Linked DNA regions of Homo sapiens: region 1 is linked to region 2. Evidence: promoter capture Hi-C in 16 types of primary human blood cells and fetal thymus (Javierre and others, 2016). All regions are on one chromosome and are shown on one strand. The core of a region is centred on a gene start or on the middle of the fragment in contact, and the rest is flanking DNA. Distances in the headings are between cores, read along the strand shown. Region 1 overlaps THOC5 (THO complex subunit 5). Region 2 holds the start of RASL10A (RAS like family 10 member A).

Region 1 (7,216 bases), core at 1,827-4,326, 210 kb before region 2:
ATTTTTATTTTTTGTGGAAATGGCATCTCGCTAAGTTACCCAGGCTGCTCTTGAACTCCTGGCCTCAAGTGATCCTCCTGCCTCAGCCTCCCAAAGTGCTGGGACTATGGGCATGAGCCAGGGTGCCCTGACAGTAGGTAAAATAAAACAATTTTATTTCCTTACTGTTTGTTGCTAGTATAAAGAAATATAATTTTGTTTACGTTGAGCTTTTATCCACCTATTAGTTCTATTAGTTTATCATGTATCACTTTTATAAATAATGATTTACGGTCACTAAGTAGCCACTTTTTCCTGTGTGGACTGGCTAAAAAAGGAAGAACAAAAATCTGTCTCTTGTGTGCAGGCTTCCCTTCCGGTGCAGGAGTACCTGTTTATGCCATTCGACCAGGCTCACAAGCAGTATGAGACAGCCAGACACCTGCCGCCTCCCCTCTATGTCCTCTTTGTTCAGGCCACTGCGTATGGGCAGGCCTGTGGTGAGTATGGGGCCTGGGTGAGGACAAGGGGCTATGGGAGCAGCAGCTGTGGCCGAGTGAATCAGTTGGAAGCAGTACCTGCTCAGGAAATTTCTCAGTCCTGCCCGAAGCCCTCAGGTGACAGAAGCTTTCTTCCCTCTGCATTGCCCAGCATGGCTGCTCTGACCAGCTGGCCTAAGGCTGGATTAACCTGATGGGTATTTCACAATGGGTGGCTTTGAGTCATTCGTGAGCCTGGCTGGACAGCTCTTGGGTGCAGAACCCAGGCAGCCTGTCTGGGCTCCCAGGTGCTCACCCCATCAAGGCACGCTTGGCAGTTAGATCAGTGCCTCTTGCTCTGCTTCAGGGTGGGGGTGCCTGGTGAATACAGGTCTCAGCCAGCTCTCCCAGGCTTTCACCATGCCTTGAATCAGGCTGCATGTCTTTGTTGTGAATTTCCAGGTTAGATGATATGTCCTCATTAAGCTTGAGGGCAGCCTGTGACTCTGCTAGGGTTTTGAGAAAATTTTGGAGACTCTGCCTTTTGCCCTAATGCAGCTTTCACCCAGCACCTACATTTTCTCCCCCACCCCACCCCACCTCATCAGACAGACATACACCGCACCAGTGCTTGCTTCTCCTCCCACCTTGGGCACCAACACATTACTGTCTCTTCTTGTGTCTTCCTCGTCCTTCTGGTCCTCCCCTCCCCTTTGTTCTCCCTCCTGTTTCCATCATCAGCTCATATGAAATCCTCCCAGCCCCCTAGACAGGGTGAGTAATTTTCTTTTCTTTTATGTTTAAAATCGGCCTGTTCCATTCTGATGTTCTTGTAGAATGCTAATATTAAATGGCTGAAAAAAATAGTCTGTTGTTTGCCAGTGCTTGATGGGAGCAACTAGTTGCTTGGGGTGAAGGGTGGTGATTCACATAGGGTTGCCATAGATAAGGCAGTGGTCAGCCACTTGGGGGAAGTTTGCCATCCCTCCTTAGTGTGGCTAGGCAAACCGTTTCAGGCTCTTGGGACCATATGTACCCTTAAGAATGGAGTTGGACGGTGGTGGCCTGTCTGACCTCACAACGCTAGACCCTCAGAGGGGGTCTCAAGACATCACTCAATGAGGTGTCATACCTGGTGTATGCAACAGGCTGTTAGCTCATGTGCTGGAGAGGCCAAGCTTAAGTTGAACAGACCTGGTCTTGAATCCTGGTTTATCAGCCTTATAGCTGTGATGTCTAGCTTCTCTGAGCCTTAAGTTTCTCATCTATAAATGGCTATAATGTATTACTCCTGTAGGGTTGTTGTGAGTATTAAAAAAAATTTTTTTTTTTGAGATGGAGTCTGGCTCTGTTGCCCAGGCTGGAGTGCAGTGGCATGATCTTGGCTCACTGCAACCTCTGCTTCCCAGGTTCAAGCAATTCTCCCTGCCTCAGCCTCCCAAGTAGCTGGGATTACAGGCACCCACCACCGTGCCTGGCTAATTTTTATATATTTAGTAGAGACAGAGTTTCACCATGTTGGCCAGGCTGGTCTCGAACTCCTGATCTCAGGTGATCCACTCACCTTGGCCTCCCAACCAGACATGAGCCACCACACCCAGCCTAAAAATTAATTTTTAATAATTTTATAATTAAAATTACAAGCATCAGCTCATTCAGTCCCCACCACTAATGGGGCAGCTACTGTTTTTCTTTTTTCTTTTTTTTTTGAGACAGAGTCTCACTCTGTTGCCCAGGCTGCAGTGCAGTAGCATGATCTTGGTTCACAGTAACCTCCACCTCCTGGATTCAAGCAATTCTCCTGTCTCAGCCTCCCAAGTAGATGGGGTTACAGGCACATGCCACCACACACAGCTAATTTTTGTATTTTTAGTACAGACGGGATTTTGCCATGTTGGCCAGGCTGGTCTCTGAACTCCTGACCTCAGGTGATCCACCTGCCTCGGCCTCCCAAAGTGCTGAGATTACAGGTGTGAGCCACTGCACCCGGCAGCTACTATTTTTCAAGTCCCCTTTTCATAGATACAGAAACTGAGGCTCAGACAGTGACATAACTTTCCAGGTCATGTGTTTGAGAATTGGTTAGGCAGGGACTCAGGTCTGGAACTGGACTGCAAGATCCAAGTTCCTATTCACTGTCCTACTGCCTCCCAGTTAAGTGAGACAATGGCAGCCATGTGCTTGGTATAGTGTAGAATAGAGAATAAGCACTTAGGTGAGAGTCATTGTTTCTGGGATGTGGACAGGTGTGGATTTCTGGGTGAGAACCTCTAAGACAACTGGCAGAGGAGTTCCATGTGGCTTTAGGCCCTCAGTTTGAATTTCTGTGCTTTGGTGTGCACCAAAAAAGAGAGGCATTCACTGCTAGTTTCAGGTGATGCTGGTTTAGGAATTTGTACTTAAGTTCTCTGTTCTCAGTAAATGACGGAAAAAAAAGCTTAAGTGTCCCACCTTGTTTCCCTTCATCTGGAGCAAGGACTTTTGCCCTTCCACCCTTAGTCAGCAAGGAGCTGGGCAGAGGTGGGAGAAATGCAGCCCCAGAGCTGGCCTACTCACACTGCTTAGCAGCTTTCCTCAGCAGCTTTCCTAACAGACTTCTTCTTGCCCCCCAGATAAGACGTTATCTGTGGCAATCGAAGGCAGTGTGGATGAAGCCAAGGCTCTGTTCAAACCTCCAGAGGACTCCCAAGGTAATGTGGTGGTTGGGATTCGTCCCCCAGGGACACCAGGTCACCATCCAAGGGCAGTCCTGGTCTTTGGAGAACTAGCTGGACTAGTTCTGTGTAGCAGGAAGCTTGACTTGAATGTCTTAGCACCCTGGAGTAGACAGGAAAGAGAGCTCACTTCCCGGAGTCACAAGGTGCGGCCCGTGGATTTCAGCCCTGCCACTCACTAGCTGACTGACCCCGAGGAAGGTATTTAATATTTCAGAGCCTCAGTTTATTCCTTTGTGAAAACAGATAGTAACACCTCATGTAGGATTGTTATGTGGATTAAATAAGGTAATGCACATACAGCCTTTAGCATAATTCTCAGCACATAGTACCCCCTCAAGTTATGCATGCTTCTACTACTATTATTATTATTTGTGTTACTATTATTACCACAGCCACCACCACCATCACAAGGAGGGGCTTGTGTTCCATCTAAATGACATCAAAAAGCCCTTTGAAAAAAATGAGTTATACGTCATTCTTCTTTTTTCTTTTTTCATCACCATGTTTTGTATACTGAATAAGAAGCAGCAAGTTAATTTATTATTTATTACAGAGAAACTTATTTACAAAAGACAGAGTCAGGGCCCCTTTATGCCATGTGGGTTGGAGTGCTTTAGGGAGCATTTGGAGCCCCCTCACCTCTAGCTGCCTTCTCTCTGTGGCTGCAGATGACGAGAGTGACTCAGATGCCGAGGAGGAGCAGACTACGGTGAGAACCATTTCCTCTTGTGGGGGCATCAAGCAGCTGCATGCACTGGGGCATGCTTGTTCGCAGGTGCCGTCCTCCCTAGAAGCAGAAGAGGTGTGAAAGAAGGTGCTGCTGGGAGGGGAGTCTGACAACCCAGCTAGCTGAAGCAGCAGGTGCCAGGCAGTAGGGCTGAGGCCTGGCTGGTTGGGAGAGGGAAGGGGAGATTGCTATGACTGATGCTCATCAGCTTGGCACTTTCCTTTGTCCAGAAGCGCCGGAGACCCACACTGGGGGTTCAGTTGGACGACAAACGCAAGGAGATGCTGAAGAGGCACCCACTGTCTGTCATGCTCGACCTGAAGTGCAAAGGTCTGGTTGCACTCACCTTGTTTAAGGGATCTGTAGCACCTAAGAGTTCACCCAGCTGCAGGTGCAGAGGGTCCGGGAGCCAAACACCCATTTGCCCAACAAAGGATTCCCATTTCATATTGCTTTGTTTTTCCTTATTGTTTTGCATGGACTTTGTTTCTTTTTGTTAAATCATAACCGTAACAACATAGCAACAAAACTCCAGTCACATAAGGCAGAAGCTTGAGAAAACTATACCTCTTTCTGAATCTAGCAAGTCAAATATCTAGAACAAGTTGCAAAAGTATACAGGTTTTTAGTAAGACCAACATGTTTAATAAATGTAAGTAGAACTTTGTATTCTGCAGAGTATATGTTTTGAAGTTGGTTTGTATGAAAAAGTACCATATAATAAAATGTTCTAGCAGTAGAAGAGCTAACAGTAAAATTTAAGTTTCCCTCTCACCACAGGTTCCTATATACCAGTCCTAGGTCTCACCTCCAAGGGCAACCATTATTACAGACTTCTTATGTATTTTTTAGAAAGATTCTTTGCACCTGGAAGCTTTTATACAAATGTATATTTATCTGCTTCCCACTTTATTTTTTACACAAATGGAAATAGGCTCTACGCACTGGTTTTCTTTTTGCTGGTTGTTTGTTTGTTTGTTTGTTTTTAGAGATAGGGTCTCACTCTCGTCATCCAGGCTGGAGTACAGTGGCATGATCACGGCTCACTGCAACTTCAACCTCCTGGGCTCAATCGATCTTCCCACATCAGCCTCCCAAGTAGCGGGGGCTACAGGCATGTGCCATCATGCCAGTTAATTTTTGTATTTTTTGTAGAGATGGGGTTTTGTCATGTTGCCCAGGCTGGTCTTGAACCCCTGGGCTCAAACGATCCTCCTGCCTCAGCCTCCTAAGTAGCTAGGACTGGAAGCGTGCACCACCATGGCTGGCTTTGAGATAATTTTAGGCTCATAGAAGACTTGCCAAAATAACATGAGTTCCTATATACTCTTCATTCAGCTTCCCTAAAGTTACATCTTAATTAAAGATGGTATGATTAACAGCGATCCACACCACTCTTAATTTCATTGGCCCAATACTGTTAACAAAATGACAGAATTTTTTTAGTTTCTTCCTTTTTTAATTAATGTCCTTTTTCTGTCCCAAGATCCAAGCCAGGGTCTCAAAGTGCATTTAGTTGCCATGCTCCTTAGTCTGCTCTAGGCAGTGAGTGTCTCAGTCTTTCCTTGTGTTTCATGACCTTGATTAGACTGAGATTATGGATTTGGGGGAGAGAATAGCATAGATGAGGTCGTCGCTATCATGTCATATCAGGAGTACCTGATGCCACTGTATTATTTCTGCTGATATTGACCTTGATCGCTTGGTTCCCTTTCCATCTTGTATTTGTTAGAAGCAGAGTCACTAAGTCCAGCCCACTCTCAAGGGCAGAGAAATTAAGCCCTACCTCTTGGTGGGAAGCGTAGCAAAGAATTTGTAGATGCTCTCCTTGCTTCTTTTTGTTCATTATATTACTGTTGTGATTTTTTTTTTTCTTGAGACAGAGTCTCGCTCTGTTGCCCAGGCTGGAGTGCAGTGGCGTGATCTCTGCTCACTGCAAGCTCCACCTCCTGGGTTCACACCATTCTCCTGCCTCAGCCTCCCAAGTAGCTGGGACTACAGGTGCCCGCCACCACGCCCGACTGATTTTTTGTATTTTTAGTAGAGACGGGGTTTCACTGTGTTAGCCAGGATGGTCTCGATCTCCTGACTTCATGATCTGCCCACCTTGGCCTCCCAGAGTGCTGGGATTACAGGTGTGAGCCACCGCGCCTGGCCGATTTTGTTTTTATAGTAAATGATTGTAAAAGTCTCTGAATTTTTCTATAATTCTGTTTTTCTTTTTTTGTTATAATTTCAACTTTTATTTTCGATTCTGGGGATACATGTGCCGATTTGTTACACTATTTTGCGTGGTCCTGAGGTTTGGGGTATGAATGATCCCGTCACCTAGGTAGTGGGCATAATACCTAGTAGTTAGTTTTTCAACACTTGACCCCCCCACCTTACTACCCCCTATGACTCTGTTCACTCTGCTCTGAGTGTTTTGACTCATAAATTCTCTCATCTTCCTCCCCTCCAGATGACAGTGTGCTTCACCTGACTTTCTACTACCTCATGAACCTCAACATCATGACAGTAAAAGCCAAAGTGACAACTGCCATGGAGCTGATCACCCCCATCAGTGCAGGGTATTGAGCAGGCGCTCTGGGCAATGACGTGCGGGATGGGGAGGTGATGAGAGCCTCATTGTGGGGCTGCTCTCGGTTCCTCCCTCTGGCTCTGGAGAGGGCTACGGCTGTGTTGACTTGTCTTGTATCCAGATGGACCAGAAGTCCTGGCACATCGCTGGTATTTAGAAAGCACTCTCTGACTTTAATTTGTGAAGTCCTCTTACTACACAGCAGATGATAAAAGTGACAACAGCATATTTGCAAATTGAGTAGGTGGGGCAGAGCACCAGCTTTTTGCTACCAGTGGAAAGTGTGTGAATATAAAATGAGATTTGGCAGACATTATTAGGTTGCCAAATTCAGGCCACTCTTTCCCTTTTCTCTTTCTATCCCAAGGTGCTGGGATTTTTGCTCCCCAGCTCAGCCCAAGCCCATGTCCTTATCTGGGTGGTGGGAGGACTGTGGTGGGTCCCTGTGAAAGTTTTGAGAAGAGTGAGCAGAGGCACAGTAATGACAGCCATCATCGCATCCCCAGGAAGGCCCTGACTACAGTGTTCTTTTTTTAATTTCTATTTTTGTTGATACACAGTCTCACTATGTTGCCCAGACTGGAGGACCATGGCATAATCATAGCTCACTGTGGCCTCAAACTTCTGGGCTGTAGTGATCCTCCTACCTCAGCCTCCTGAGTAACTAGGACTACAGGTGCATGCCACCATGCCTGGCTGACTTTCTATTTTTATTTTATAGAAACGGGGTCTT
Region 2 (6,870 bases), core at 142-2,641:
GAGGAGTGAAAGCGGACCCCAGCCCCCGATCTAGCATGGGAGGATGAAAGCACAGCCATTGTTCTGGAGACACTTTCTGGTTGTCATTATACAGGCTCCCTGGAGGATGTGCCTCCTCCCCCTTCAGGATTTAGCTCCTCTACTTCCCCTGGGCTGGTGTGGGCACATTGTCTGTGCTTTGACAGTCCCTAGATCCCATGTGTTCTAGAACCTTCTCTCCCAAAGCAGAACTTTTTTTTTTTTTCCTGTTTTCTGTTTTTTAAATCTATCTCAGCCTCCTGACAAGCAATAAGATTTGGAATATTTGTTGAGGGGATAAATAAATGAACTCCTTAGTCAGTGCAGAGATCTGTGCATTGCGGCCATTTCTTGAGCATTGCCGCCATTTCTTGAGCATTGCCATGTGCAGGTCAGAGACGTGGGAGCCCCCACACAGCGGGGAGGAGAGCAGAGGCGGAGGATGGGGGGGCTGGGCTAACCCAGGCTTTCCAAGCTGTGATGGGGCAGGAGCTTCTCCACTAGCTCGAGGGAGGGGGAACTTGGGCTCTGGGCGCCTGTTTTGGAGGTTGCATCCCTTTGAGGGGCGCTACGGGTTGCAACTCACGCAGGAAAGGTGACCTTAGTAGTGATGGAGGTGGAGTGGGCCAATTTCTGGATCTTTATTTAGTCACCTCCAGCCTTGCTGGGACAGGGATCTGGGGCTAAGCTGCTGTGGTCTCGGCACCCTCTGTCCCCACTTCCCCTCGAGGACGGCTGTTTGAATATTGTCTAGTGTGGGCCATTTACCCCCGTGGGCAGGAGGAAGGTAGGAGGGACTTCAAAGGAGACTTCAAGGGCCCCCCCACTGCCCTTCTAACCTTGCAGATTCCCCTCTCGGGCCTGTTTCCTCTTCTCTCAACCAGCGATGCCAGGCTGAGGCTGTAGGTTCGAGAATCACGTAGGTAATGGGCCTGGCACATAGTAGGCTCTCAAGAAAAGGTTGGAGCCTCTTGAGGAGTCTGCCTGTGATGGATGCGGAGCGCAGACCCAGCGCAGTGCGGCGATTCGCCCAAGGTCACACAGCCGCCCCCCCCAATTCGGACCCCGGGCGGCCTGACTCCGGGGGCCGGGGCTTGTCGGGAGCCAGCGTGGGGGCGAGCAGTGTTTGGAAGAGCGGCCGCGGCAGTGGGTGGGAAGGGGCTTCTATTTTGGAGCGGGTGAGAGGAGCGGGACACGCGGAGGAGGTAAGGAAGGGGTAGGCCCTCTCCGGGATCTCTGTCCCCCAGTCACCTTCCTGCGACCCTTCCTGGGAGGGGCGTCCTGGGCGGTGGGGGAAGGTGGGAGGGGCGGGCGGTTACCTCATCGCCGCCTCCGGGAGGCCCCGCTCGCTCGCGCCGGCGGCTGGGGCGGCGACTCCAGGCGCGGAAGCGAGAGAAGGATAGAGGCACAGAGGCTCCGGGAGGCAGCGCTGCCCCCCGCGCCCCGCACCGCTGCGGGACCCGCGCCGCGAGAGGGGCGGACTTCGGCGCCTCGCGCGTCCGCCGGCGCCTGGGTTGGCGCTGCGGGGCGGAGGCGGTGTCTGAGCGCCGCTCCGGCTCTGCTCTCTCTCGAGCTTCGGCACCCGCCCGAGCCGCTCGCGCGCCCGCCACCTGTCTGCCCACTCGGCTGTCTGTCTGCCCTCCCGCCGCCAGCTCCTGCCTCGGGCCTGCCCTCTCCGGTCTCGGTGCTCCGAGGGGCGACGAGAAGCGCGACGGGGCCGTGGCGCACCGGGCAGGGCGCGCGGGGCGCACGGCCTGGGGGCGCACGGTGCGGCGCCGGCCCATGAGGCTTTCCAGCGCGGGGAGCGACAGCGCCGGCCGGCCATGGGGGGTAGCCTGCGGGTGGCCGTTCTAGGCGCCCCGGGCGTGGGCAAGACGGCCATCATCCGCCAGTTCCTGTTCGGTGACTACCCCGAGCGCCACCGGCCCACGGACGGGCCGCGCCTCTACCGACCCGCGGTGCTGCTCGACGGCGCCGTCTACGACTTGAGCATCCGCGACGGCGACGTCGCTGGCCCCGGCTCGAGCCCCGGGGGTCCGGAGGTAGCGGCTCGAGGAGCGGGCAGGGGCGTGTGACAGTGTGAGGGGTGTGCGTGCTCGGTGCACACGTGCGTGTCCGCGTGGAGGCCTCGGGCGCCTGGCTGTGCTCCGGGATGGAGGGATGTGTGTGCGTCCTGGGATACTTGCGTTTCAGCCCTTCCCGCCGACCTGGAGACGCCCAAGCCCAGGCTGGAGGCCGGGCGATTTTGCCCAGGGGCGTTCCCTTGCTCCTGTGAGCGCCTCCACCTTTGCCTGCCTCGGCTGGGGGTGTGGAGCAGCTCTTGGTGGTGCATAACGGTGCCTTCCCGAGAGTGTGGCGTTTTGTGTTTGGGGCCTTGAGCAGAGCTACAATGGGAGAGACTGGGGTCAGGAGCAGGGGTGTACTTTCTACGGGGGCTGGTGGAGGGGTTCATTCTCTGCCCTATCATTTTTGTCCCCTGGAGCGAAGACTCGTTTAGTAATTTGTGCAAAGTAAAGGACAGACCTCCGACCCTAGAGCAGTGAAGAGGAAAGAGCAGGCAGGATTAAGCAGGGCTTCCTGGAGGGAGTGGCATTTGAGCTGAACCTGGAAGACCGAGTGAAGTTCTGAGTAAAGGAAGTGGCAAAAACATACCAGGTGGAAAGACCAGCAGGTGCTTACGCTACGGTCATAAACGGTTACAGCTGACAATCTGGGGGCGTGGTGGACCACGGGACTCGGGCCAAGGGCTTTGGAATTAGTCTTAGAGGCCGTGGTAAGCACCGAGAGCATCTAGGGAGGAGAGCGGCCTGAGCCGAGTTGGGGAAAGCTGAAAAGAGGAAGATTCGGGGTAAACAGAGGGGAGACCAAGGATGAAGGAGGCTGGCTGACAGGCTCCAGGCACGATTTGGAAAATTTTACCCTGGTGGTCATGAGGAGACGGCCCGGAAAGCTTGGGGGAGGGGCACAGAGGTCTGTATGGGGGTGATGTTGGCCTGAGGATTAGCGTCCAGGCCCCTGCAGAGGGTTCGAGAGCGGAAGAGTGGAAAGGAGGCTTCCGCAAACCCTGGCCTCCTGTCCCCAGGAGTGGCCAGACGCTAAGGACTGGAGCTTGCAGGACACGGACGCCTTCGTGCTCGTCTACGACATCTGCAGCCCGGACAGTTTCGACTACGTGAAGGCCCTGCGGCAGCGCATCGCGGAGACCAGGTAGGGGCCCGGCAGTTCTGGCGGTGGGGAGCTAGGACAGGTCTGGCAGGGCCTTTGCCTGAGGAGAGTGTGTAGGGTCTCCCAACGTCGTGGGCCGGGTCTTAGGCCTTCGCCCGTGGGAAGGTCTTAAGCTGTATGTGCTCTTTGGCCCACATGGGCCTGGGGTTTCGTTGGGGCGGCGGGGGGGGCGGTGTCTCTGGCCGTAGGAAGGGAATGCGCCTGCGTGTGTATACCCACTGGGGGAATTCTCCGGCCGTGGGGTCCCCGCGTCTCTCATCTCCATTCGGCCCCCAGGCCGGCGGGCGCGCCCGAAGCGCCCATCCTCGTGGTAGGCAACAAGCGGGACAGGCAGCGGCTGCGCTTCGGACCGCGGCGCGCGCTGGCCGCCCTAGTGCGCAGGGGCTGGCGCTGCGGCTACCTCGAGTGCTCCGCCAAGTACAACTGGCACGTGCTGCGTCTCTTCCGCGAGCTGCTGCGCTGCGCTCTGGTGCGCGCGCGCCCTGCACACCCGGCCCTGCGCCTGCAGGGGGCGCTGCATCCCGCGCGCTGCAGCCTCATGTGACCCGATCGGACAGTGCCATCCATGGGCCCCACCTTGTGACTGGGACAATCAGGGACCTGGATTGGACGGGATCGCCCAACTTCACTGGGACTGGACAGGGAAGTCTCCGCCCTGATTGGATGAGGAAAGCTCCAACCCAGTCTCCTAAGCGACTGGCCCCCTTTTGAACCTCATTGGACCCAACCAGGTCCCAAGCTCCATTGGAGATGACCAGTCCTTTCTGGGACCTCAATGGGTCACAATCCCATTGGATGGAAAGGACTTGGCTATGAACTTGACTGGAAACACGCAGCCTGCTCCTGGAGCTTCACTGGACATATTCTTTATGCCACACCTACCACGGGATAATAAAAGGGAAAATAATTTGAGTGCGCCTGGGATTTCTGGGCTGGGCGGGATAACGCCTTAAGCCTAGAGGTCAGAGTTGCCAGGCTTGGCCTCCAGGCAGTTAACTCCAGGGTCCTCGAAAGGGTCTGAATGGCCCCAAGGTGGAGTCCCCAAGAAACAGACAGGTGGCTGGAGCAAAACTTTACTGTCAGAGGCTCTGCTGGGCCACAGGTCTTCAGAACACCGGGCTCGCCCGGCCTCCTCTAAGGCATTCAATAATATTAGTAATTAAATAGCAACGCTCATCCCCCAACCGGAATGTACAACAGAGGTCCCATTGTGCCATGTGGTCCCAAGGGGTCTGGTCCCATGAGGTCTGGTACTCAAGAGGCAGAGGGGGCTCCCTGATGCAGAAGGGTTAAGGCCACAAAGGAAAAGGAGAAGGGATGGGGTCTGGGGACAGCTGAGCTGGTCCATCACATCCAGGAATCTGGCTCAGCCCTCGGGGTGACTGAGTGCAGGGCATGCCATGTCCCCAGCTCTGCGGGTCCGGAGGGGCGGCGGGGGCCCCGAGGCGTGGGGATACGTGAGGGTTTACGGTCTGGCTGTGTGTCCATCCGACCCCGTGCCCAGGTCCTCGAGGGTTCAGTGCAAGCCAGGGGGCTCCCAGGTGCATCTAGTGGCCCCCCCATGCCAGGGCAGGGGCTGCCTTCATCGGAGGAGCTGGAAAGGGCTTGGCTTCGGGGCCCAGGCAGCCCATTGGCCGTCCGGCCAGAGTCCCCAGGTTGGCCACATTTGCCACCCAGGACGCTGAGGGACGAAGAGGAGGAACTGGAGGAACAATAGGCAGAGTCAGGAGCTGGAGGGTCGGGGGCCCGAGCTGGGTCAGGGGCTGGTCCAGTGGGGGTCACGCTAGCAACAGCCTCAAGGGCCCGGGCATTGGCCAGGAACTCCTCTTCCAGGCGCCGGAACAGCTGCTGCTCCTGCTGCGGGTCGAGCTGCAGGGGTGTGCGGAAGATGCTGGCCGGTGTGGTGCCCAACTCTGGACTGGGGCTGGAGACCCGGGAAAGCCGGGGTGCTGCAGGGCTGCGGGCACGGGGAGTCTGGGGGGTGCTCCTGCCCGAGCCCCCACTGCCCCTGCCCCTTGGCACCCATGAGTGCTGCCCGTCTCGATCCCTGCGCACAAGCAGCACAGCCTGCTCCTCGCGGCTCTGGCTCCGGGCCCGCCGGGCAGGGCTGGGGACCGACAGCTGGGCTCCCCTGCCTCCTGGGGCCCCCCGGGGCCGGCCGCGATCCAGCCGGTCTCGGGACTGGCTGCGCAGGGCAGGAGGCCGTCTCGGAGAGGCCGGGGTGCCTGTGGTCAGCCGCCGGCTGGGTCGCTCCCTCCGGGGGCCAGTGCCTGTGTCATCACTGCGGGTACCAAGGGGGCCGCTCTGGGCGGAGGAGGCTGAGGAGTCACTGTCCCCGGAGTAGCGGCGGGAGCGGGGATGGGGGGGCAGCTGATCCCGGGGCCTGGGGCAGGGGGACAATAGAGACAGATGGGGTACCACGGAAGGACTGGCATGCAGAACAGGCAGGGAGAGGAACAGCAGGGTATGTGGCTGGTGGACGGGGCTGTCAGGGGCATCGGTCTGTCCTGGGGACTTCCAGGGAGAAGTGAGCAGCTTCCTCCAGCGGCCCAGGGCCCCAAAAGCCACGGAAGAAGAAGTTTCCTGGGCTCTAGACACCCCCCTTCCCAGGACGGGCCAGAGGAAGCAAGAGCTGGACTGGCTGCCGCCCAGCCACAGGGCCCGCCCCAGCTGTGTTGTTGGTTTGGTTGGGTTGCCATGGAGATGGGAAGCCAGGCCCGCCCCCACCCACGGGAACTTTTCCCAGGGTGTGAGTCACTCTGGCGCACAGGCAACCCATCATGCAGGCCAGGGCTGACGCCCCCCCACCCTCTGGACCCCTCACTCCTCGTCCTCCTGCATCTCACCTGGGTGGGGTCTCGGGCCCCTCCTTTGTGCTTCGTAAGCTAACGGGAGTCATCTCAGGCCGGGAGCCCCGGCGCTCACTCCCAGGGACTGGGCTAGCAGGGCGGGGACTGGTGGTGGGCGACACCCTCTGTGGAGAAAAGGTGCAGACCCTCGGCTGGGGTGGGCGATGAGCTGCGGGGAGAGAGGACAGGCAGCATGTGAGGGACAGAGCCACAGAAGCAAGTCCCCTGCCCGTCCAGCCCCAGCCCCACCCTGGCACTGACCAGTGGAGGAGCAGCGGCACGGGTCGTGCTTGTCCAGGTAATGCTCCAGCGTGTCCCAGCCACCACCCACTCGCACCATCACGTGGCTCCTCAGCACCTGCAGGTGTGGGCAGGTCACGGCTGTGCCCCGGGCGCCCCGCAGCCCACCACCTTGGCTGCTGCCCGCTGGGGCGGCCCCAGGCCCTTACCCGCACAAAGATGAGCAGGCTCGAGTCCCCCACACGGTACTTCCCCTCTGAGACCTTGATCATGGGAAACTGGTCAGGGCAGGTGCAGCGGCCCAGAATCTCCCTCACCTGAGGCCAGAGAGAGAGGGTAGGGGTCAGAGGTCAAGTCCTCCTCCTGGGGCTTAATGTCAGCCATTCCAGGGTCAGGAGGAAGTCAGGCTTTCCGGGTAAGTGGATGGAGGCAGTGTTGCCCCGGATGGGGTACAGCTTCCACACGTGACCTTTCTTTTATTTTTTTTATTTTTTTTTATTTTTTTTTTTTTTTGAGTTGGAGTTTTGCTCTTGTTGCC

The links. Contacts are between HindIII fragments. The CHiCAGO score rates a contact against its expected background, and 5 or more counts as called.
Region 1: a contact is called between a fragment that was not itself captured here and the fragment with the promoter of RASL10A in region 2, in 1 of 17 cell types (naive B cells). The highest score is 5.3, in naive B cells.

The regions. Positions count from the first base shown.
Region 1 is chr22:29,525,094-29,532,309 of GRCh38, reverse strand. THOC5 (THO complex subunit 5) reads left to right here. Exons shown (of 20, transcript NM_003678.5): 8 at 347-479; 9 at 3,071-3,148; 10 at 3,844-3,884; 11 at 4,133-4,232; 12 at 6,364-6,472. Among named protein-coding and RNA genes, the nearest start is that of THOC5, 25 kb to the left of the region's middle. The HindIII fragment of the contact is 357 bases long and covers 2,898-3,254 here.
Region 2 is chr22:29,310,218-29,317,087 of GRCh38, reverse strand. It overlaps RASL10A (RAS like family 10 member A), which reads left to right and starts at 1,391. Exons shown (of 3, transcript NM_006477.5): 1 at 1,391-2,060; 2 at 3,101-3,225; 3 at 3,520-4,155. The coding sequence starts at 1,842. The coding sequence ends at 3,787. GAS2L1 (growth arrest specific 2 like 1) reads right to left here. Exons shown (of 6, transcript NM_001362985.3): 3 at 6,542-6,649; 4 at 6,354-6,450; 5 at 6,090-6,261; 6 at 4,301-5,626. The coding sequence ends at 4,591. RefSeq lists enhancers at 1,395-2,199, 2,200-3,004, 5,947-6,096. The HindIII fragment of the contact is 16,106 bases long and covers 1-2,970 here.